Regions from separate parts of the Homo sapiens genome. Here regions 1 and 3 are each linked to region 2. The links are contacts of gene promoters, found by promoter capture Hi-C in human tissues and cell types (Jung and others, 2019). All regions are on one chromosome and are shown on one strand. The core of a region is centred on a gene start or on the middle of the fragment in contact, and the rest is flanking DNA. Distances in the headings are between cores, read along the strand shown.

Region 1 (2,700 bases), core at 60-2,559, 1.0 Mb after region 2:
AATGTATTAAAAACTTCCTTTTTATAATTGTATCTCTTTATTATATTCTGTATTTGGTGAGACACTCTTCTCATACTTTAGTTCTTCAGACTTGGTTTCCTTAAATCCTTGAACATATTTAAAATAGTTAAAATCTTTGTCTAATAAGTTCAATATCTGGGCTATCTGTTGGAAATCAGATTAGATTCTCTTGCCCCACCCCGTTTGTTGTTGCTGCCTTTTATAGCTGTGATTATATTTTAGTGACTTTCATGAACTCATTCTGTAAAATCTACATTCTTTGTCATGTGTAACCACTTATGTGTCCGATTCATTAGCTTAATTGTCAACTAATGATTAGATGAAGAGTTCCTTGAATGCCTAAACCAAAAAATTGCTCAGTCTTTGCTGAAGGACTCTGTGTGTCTGTTGGGACATGTCTTGGACACTCAGCTAGGCAGCTTCTAACTTTGCTTCTGCCTTCATTCCCTGCTTGCTCAGATCCTCAAGGTCAGGCAGAGGTGAGAGATTACGGTCTCTCTGTTCATTCATGAACATGCACACAGTCCTAAACATGCACAGAGCCTTCTAGATTCCCAGAAATACGTAAGAGCTTTTCAAAGTCCTTATGAACATCTCATTCCCAACCTTTCTTCCAAAGCTTTCTGGTTAGTTTATTGTTTGCTCCAACTTTTACCCATTGCTTCATGTAGCAATGACAGGTAAATGTTTTAAATAAATTCCCCACCCCCACCCCAGTAGAGGGTGAGTTCCATAACAGGCAAGATAAAGGCCGGTTTTTTAAATGGGTTTTCCTGGGAGCTATCAGACAGATCAAATAAGGATAATCTGCAAATAAGGTCCATTCTGCTCTTTCCCATACCATGAATGTGGCGTGTTCTTTTCAACACTACTGCTGAACTAGGGAGCAAGGTATGGAAACGGCATAAGTTAAACACCAAAATGCTTGCTGTTATTACTAACATTTGGCTTTTTTTTCTCTTTTTTTAAGTAACTCAGGTTACTGTGATCTTTTGATTAGTTTCTCGAGTCCTGAAAAAGTTGACTTTGATCATTTTTTGAAGGCCAGTTTTATTGCTACCTTTATGAAGGGACAAAATTTTTAAGTTCCTTAATCCACCATTTTTCCTCTCACCACACTATTACATAATTTTACATCTTAACCAAATAGTTAATAGAACCCAATCATTATGATAATCTCAGACTGAACAATGTACAGTTGTGGTTTGAAACTTTGTTTTCTGTGCTCTCAACCTCTTATACCAAGGACATCCGGCTGAATTATAAAGGATGATATTAGTTCATTTTTTCTTCTTGCCAACATGCACAAGCACTCTACCAAATTTCATGATGTTTATTTACAATACATGTAACTATCATTGTGCAAGACAGGGAATTCCTCAACGGGAAACACATAATTTGGTTATATTTTTAAATGCTTATCACAAAGCCTACTACCTAGTAGGTACTTAAGAAATGTGTTTAATGATAAGACTAATGAAAAAAAATAGCTCTCATATATTGAGTTCTAACTTTAGCCCAGGCCCTATGCCAAGCAAATTTCTAAACTATTTTTTAAAATTGTAAAATATATGAACAGAAGTTTATGTAACATATATGAAAAATTTTAAAGAATATTTAAGAGTACTAACAACCTAGCATAAGAATAAAACATTATCAGTAACTTCAACACATCCTGTGTTTCCCTCTCCATAATCTTAAATTGTATTAATCATTTCCTATATTTTCCTTACACCTTTACATGTATCCACATTCTATAAAATTAGTATTATATTATTCTGATTTCTTTCTCAACATTATGTACTTGAAAACCATTCATTTTCTCACTGCTGTACTCCATCATATGGATATATCTAAAGACATTTAAGCTAACATTATTCTGGATAGAAAAGGTTGAAGTAACAAATCCCTAAAGGAAGGATTAAAACAAAAAAGTATCCAGGATCAAGCCCTAGAGTATGCCAACTTTTAGAAATCATATAGAGGCAAAAGAGCCAGGGAAGAAGGTCAAAAGGGGGTTGGGTTAATGAAATGGGAGGAAAATTAGGAGAAAGTGGTGCCATGGAAGACTGGAAAGGATAGAATTTCAAACAGAAATGTGTAGAATGACACTGAGAGTTCAACAAATAGAGATACAGAAGAATCTGCTAGATCTGACAACATATAGCACTGATGAAAAGCTTATCAGGTTAGTTTCGGTGTAGTAGTGAGAGACTGAAACTATATTGGGATACTTTAAAGACAGAATGAGAAATAAGGAAGTAGACGACAGCATGTCTAAACCAGGAAAGGAAGCAGAGAAATGGAAGTGTTAGGATCTGAGTAGAGAGTTTTTAAAAATACTATGAACATTACAACATTATTTATGACATTGAGAATAATCCTACAGAGAGGCCAGTTGTTGCTGAAGCAAAATGAAGGGATAACCCAGAGACAGAAGGATCTAATAAGAAGATGAGAGATGCGAGCCAGAGCATAATGGAGGGAATATCCTGTCATAGAAAGAGAGATAACATCTCAAGTACAAAACAAGGAAGGAGAGGAGATGGGTGTGATGTTTGAGAATAGGAAAATGAGGAAGATTAATCTAATAGTTTCTATTCTTGGTGAATTATGAAGGATATTAACTGAGAATGTGGGTGTAAAAGTCCTCTGGAAACATGGCAAGTTAAGAGTAGA
Region 2 (2,844 bases), core at 319-2,818:
GGCCTGTGCCTACAAACCAACCGTTAATCTGAGTATTTCAACCTGGCCAAAGGCAACACAAAACACCCAACCCTATATTTTTGGGAAAGAAAAAAACGGGGGCAACTGAGCAGACAGACAGAGGCAAGTACAATGTGGCCTCCTAGATAAACCTCAATGCGCTTATTTCTTTTGGCACAGACACTTCCTTCTTAATTTTGAAGGAAAGTCACATCACATTACATTCTATCTGTCCCTAAGAATTAAACCCTGTTAGGTGAGCCAAACTTAAACACATTAAATTCTACAAATAGGCCAGGCACAGTGGCTCACGCCTGTAATCCCAGCACTTTGGGAGGCCAAGGCGGGCGGATCACCTGAGGTCGGGAGTTCGAGACCAGCCTGACCAACATGAGAAACCCCCGTCTCTATTAAAAATACAAAATTAGCCTGGCGTGGTGGGCCATGCTTGTAATCCCAGCTACTCGGGAGGCTGAGGGAGGAGAATAGCTTGAACCCAGGAGGCGGAGGTTGCGGTGAGCCGAGATCGCCCCATTGCACTCCAGCCTGGGCAACAAGAGCGAAACTCCGTCTCAAAAAAATAAACAAACAAATAAATTCTACAAATAGCCATTAGAATTATTAGGATAGAAAACGATGATGGGTACTAACAGATTCACTCAGAAGGAGTGGGCAGCTAATTCACATTATGTGTAGCTCTGGCTTGGAGAAGACACAGGGCTTGGAGGAGGCAAGACTGTTCAGCATGAATTAAAATTGATTTATGAGCTTGCTGTAGCACTTGGAATAGAAAAAAGAATCTTTTCAGCGCCTTTGACCCCTCTCTCAAATTACACCAGGGTGCAACTGAGGAACAACAGTGCCGACCACCCACTTTTCTCGACCCTTGGGGAAAATAACTTTTTTTTGGAAGGGAGAGTCAGTAGATGAGGCTGCATTTTCCACCAGGGAACACGAACTGCTGCGGGAAGATCCCAGCTTCTGGCTAAAGGAGCCGCAGGCCAGCTCGCCATCCAGTCCCCAGAGCCCGGGCTTTAGGTAAAGCGTGGAGATGCAAATCAGTTTCGCCGCCAAGGACCGGCCAGGCGCGTCTCCTCCCGGGCCTCGCAAGGAACAGGTCAGGGAGACGACTTCCAACTTTCTTGGCCGGACCCTAAACGTTCACCGCCCCTGCCCAGCCGCCCACTCCTGGGCAGCCAGCAAGTCTCCATTCACAAGCGGCTCCATGCTGCCCAGCACTGGCGCCCCTGAGGCGCGGAGCCCCGCAGCCAAATGACAGGACTTGGGGGCAAACAAGGACAAAAGTTCCCACCAGGTGGGCACTGCAGGAAGGAGGCCGACAACCCCGAGATTCTCCGAGTCCCGCGGCACGTGCGCTGCGACGCTGGCCGCTTCCCCCGCCGCTCGGGAAGGTCACGCCGCCCGCACACCGAGGCCCGCCCCGCGCCCCGCTCCCCGCTCCCTCTGCCTGGCGCGCTCCCCGCAGCTGCAGGCGCCAGACCGGGCTGCGCTCACCGCCGCGCCGGCGTGGCCGCGTCCAGCTCAGGCTCCGCCGCCCGCTCTCGGCTCCGGGTCGCCGGCTGGGGCGGCCACTTAACACCCACGTCGGCAACGGCCGGCCCTTCGCCCCTCCCTTCGCGCAGGCATCCCGGACTGCGGCCCCGCGAAGCTCAGGAGCGCCCCTGCGGCTGGCGGGCGGCCTGCCCAGGGCCGTGCCCGAGCCGAGACCGGGAGCCGCCACCGCCCACCGGCCCTGCCACCGCCCCCAGCACGGGAAGCGGAAGTGGGCGTGGGGCCGCGGCGCGCACAGCCAGCCCGCGACCCGGCGTGGTGCTGCCGCCGACCCTGGTGAAGGTGGAGAGCGGGGCCTGCGCCTCCGGAGACTTTCCCACCTCTGGGATCCCCGAGACCCTCTCTGAGGCCGGACCCTTGTTAGCCCGCTGGGCTGGGACTGGGGGCTGGGGGCTGGTAATGTCAGTGGTTGGGAGGACTTACTTTTTAGCTACTTTGACCTTGTTGGGAGGCTAAGGCCTTATTTATAAATTATATTTGAGTACAAAATTATACTCGGGATCCAAGGCCCTAATAGGAAATACAACTAAGTATGAAAATACAGGAATTAGCCGGGCATGGTGGCTCACGCCTGTAATCCCAGCACTGTGGGAGGCCGAGGTAGGCGGATCACCTGAGGTCAGGAGTCCAAGACCAGCCTGGCCAACATGGTGAAACCCCGTGTACTAAAATTACAAAAATTTATCCAGCGTGGTGGTGCGTGTCTGTAACCCCAGCTACTAGGGAGGCTGAGGCAGGAGAATCGCTTGAATCTGGGAGGTGAAGGTTGCAGTGAGCCAAGATTGCATCACTACACTCCAGCCTGGGCTACACAGCGAGACTCCGTTTCATAAAAACAAACAAACAACGACAAAAAAAAAAAGGTGTGGTGACACATGCCTCTATTCTTAGCTATTTGGGAGGCCAAGGCGGGAGGATCGCTTGAGGCCAGGAATTGGAGGCCGCAGTGAGCTATGATGGCACTGTTGCACTCCAGCCTGGATGACAGAGACCTCATCTCTCTCTCTCTCTCTCTCTCACCCACACACACACACACACACACACACACACACCCTCCACACAGTGTAATTTTATTTTACAACTTTAAGCCTTGTTTAGATGTGCTGTTGGATTATTATTTTTTTCTTTTTTTTTCTTTTTTTTTTTGAGACAGAGTCTCACTCTGTCACCCGAGCTGGAGTGCAATGGTGCAATCTCAGCTCACTGCAACCTCCCCCTCCTGGGTTCAAGCGATTCTCCTGCCTTAGCTTCCCAAGTAGCTGGGATTACAGG
Region 3 (2,700 bases), core at 150-2,649, 1.1 Mb after region 2:
ACAGCTATATAGCTTCAATTATATTCAAAGTAATTTTAACAATCATGTACTAATTAGAGATTTTGGAGTGACATATAGACATGGAATAAGTACAGACATGTTCAGATCTCATCCTTTGGCATGCCAAGGCAGAAGAAAGGTTGAGAACTATAGATTTTCAATGGTAAATCATTTATTCTTGAAAATAAATTTTTTTCCAAAAAAATGTACTTGATATTTAAAAATATGTGAATCTTTACCAACTACTTGGGACCAAAAATACTTACTTCACTGTGGCACTTAGAAGAAAGTTCAGCTGTGGTATCAATAGGTTGTCTGGGGCTGACAGATAACGATCAAACTGAACCTAAATGAAACAGAGAAATACAAAATATAAAGTACATATATGTGCTAACAAACAACTCAAATATAAACATCTCTTTTAAGAATTAAATCCTTGAGAAAAATTCCATACTCTAAATAACTAGATTGTTGTGTTCAAATTGTGTATTTTCTAAACATTCTAACTAAAACTCCCTAAAACTGTCAAATCTGTAATATAGTCAATATTAGCAATACTTACTTTCAAAATCCTGAATCCAAACCATTCATTTTAGTCTTCCTCACAAAGCTTTTAAGTAATAATATTAACAAGAAGTAAAGTCATCAGGTTTCAGGTCTACCTGTTTCTTGATTTTACTATATTTGTTCATTTGTTCATTAATGCATTCATTAGTTCAACTAATACCTACCATTGAAAAGGTACTATATTAAGTAATGGAAGTATAAAAATGAGCAAAAAAAGGATAGTCCCTAGCTTCACAGAGCTTATGGCCTAGCAAGAGAGGTGTTAAACAGATAATAATATAAATAAATATATAATTACAAATTTTGTTAAATGCTATTAAGGAATAAAACAAGGTACTATAAAGCATAAATCAAGGACCTAGTCTGTGGATTCGGCAAAAGCATCTCTCAGGAAAGGACATTTGAAGTGAAATCTTAAAGATGAATATACATTAAGTAAGTGGATTGATGGGTGGGGAGGTTCAGGGAGAGGAGACAGCATGAAGACTTGAGGTGGGAAGGAAAACATATAAGTAGAGATCATGTAGGACTGGCATGCTTATTTAAGGATTTTAATTATTTCAAAAGCATTAGTAAACCATTGAATTTAAGTAAGGGAGAAATCTGATTTAAGTTTTAAGAAGCTAAATCTGGCCATAGGAAGACAGAATGGAAGATTGCAATAATAGATACAAAGACACCAATTAGGTACCTTAGGTACCTACTGCAGCATTTTTAGACTATAGGGGCAATCAAGGTGAAAGACGTAAAGATATTTGAGGACCATCAGGACTTGGTTACTGATAGAATGAAGGGATGGACTCCCAGATTTTGGATATGTATGAATTAATTCACCATATTATCATAACACATAACTGTACTCTTCATTCATTTATTTGTGTAGTAGCTGCATCCCTTACTAGATCATATCTGTTTTCATCCCAATTCTTAGCATGATGCCTAGAAAATAGCAGAAACTCGGTTAATAACTATTTAAATGATAAATGGATAGAAGGTCTTACAATTTTCTGAGTTAATAATGCCTGGAAGAGGACTTAGGTTTAGGGTGGAATGTGCAGAGTTAGTTTTGGACATGCTGAATTGAAGTGCCTTAGAAACCCCTAAATGGAGACAACAAATGGTTGTATATAATCACGTATTAAATACAAAACTCAAGCAAGATTTGTTTCTCCAGAGACATCGTATATTCATATTCACCTTAATTGTTCTGAAAATTAACACCAGGAACATGAAGAATTTTTAATGGCATTTCAAATATTTTATGAGTTGTATTACAGACTGGATATGTGTCAAGAGAGAAGGAGAAACAGAGGAAGGGAACATATATTTGGTACTAACTAATGTTACAGATCTAAGTGTGAGCATAGATCTTCATTTTTGGGGGGTAAATATCTTGAAGTGGAATTGTACTGGATAGTATGGTAAGTGTATATATAACTTTCTAAAAACATATCTTTTAATGAATCTAAAATTCATTTTCATCTATTTTTATTTAAACTTTTTAATATCGAATTTTCTTTGCATTTCTAATTTTTGCTACTATGTTTTTGTTTCATATATAGAAGTTATAACTGTTGCTTCTATATAGTGTCTTTTATCACGACATAATGTTTCTTATTTGTCTCATTTAGTCTTTTTAAATTCTACTTTATCTAATAATCATATAGATAGCTCCACCTTCTTCTTTGCATTTGTTAGGTATCTTATGAGCCTATCCTTTTGTTTTCAGTTAAACTGAGTTCTGGAAGATAATATATAGGAAAGCCTTGGCATCAAAAATTGTTGGAAAATTTAAAAACCTTCCTACAGGACTATCTATGAAAGTCAGGCCATTGTGGTAGTGAGTATACGTGAGTATTTTAAATACTTAGGATCACTAGTTTAGTACAGTAGTTAAACCCACAAGCTCTGTAGGCCAACTTCCTGGATTGAATGGGGTTGTCATGAGGATTAAAGAGTTAATACAGGGAAAACACTTGCTATGCTAATGTTAATGGCTGTTGTTCTTCCATATTATTATTACTATTACTAGTAGTACTATCATAAAACTTCCAAAAGGGATCATTCCTATGAGGGATAGAGCTATATGACTTAAATATCATACAATGAATGGCTATGCATATGAACACTATA

The links. Contacts are between HindIII fragments. The study calls those that stand out against the background at their distance.
Region 1: a fragment that was not itself captured here is called in contact with the fragment with the promoter of SLC25A15 in region 2 in 1 of the 25 tissues and cell types used here (dorsolateral prefrontal cortex).
Region 3: a fragment that was not itself captured here is called in contact with the fragment with the promoter of SLC25A15 in region 2 in 1 of the 25 tissues and cell types used here (spleen).

Annotation. Positions count from the first base shown.
Region 1 is chr13:39,753,470-39,756,169 of GRCh38, reverse strand. It overlaps a transcript of COG6 not described here. Among named protein-coding and RNA genes, the nearest start is that of MIR4305, 91 kb to the right of the region's middle. The HindIII fragment of the contact is 5,651 bases long and covers 1-2,700 here.
Region 2 is chr13:40,788,335-40,791,178 of GRCh38, reverse strand. It overlaps SLC25A15 (solute carrier family 25 member 15), which reads right to left and starts at 1,568. Exons shown (of 7, transcript NM_014252.4): 1 at 1,516-1,568. RefSeq lists silencers at 1-286, 1,419-1,998. The HindIII fragment of the contact is 20,114 bases long and covers 1-2,844 here.
Region 3 is chr13:39,725,115-39,727,814 of GRCh38, reverse strand. It overlaps COG6 (component of oligomeric golgi complex 6), which reads right to left. Exons shown (of 19, transcript NM_020751.3): 18 at 267-346. Among named protein-coding and RNA genes, the nearest start is that of MIR4305, 62 kb to the right of the region's middle. The HindIII fragment of the contact is 4,349 bases long and covers 1-2,700 here.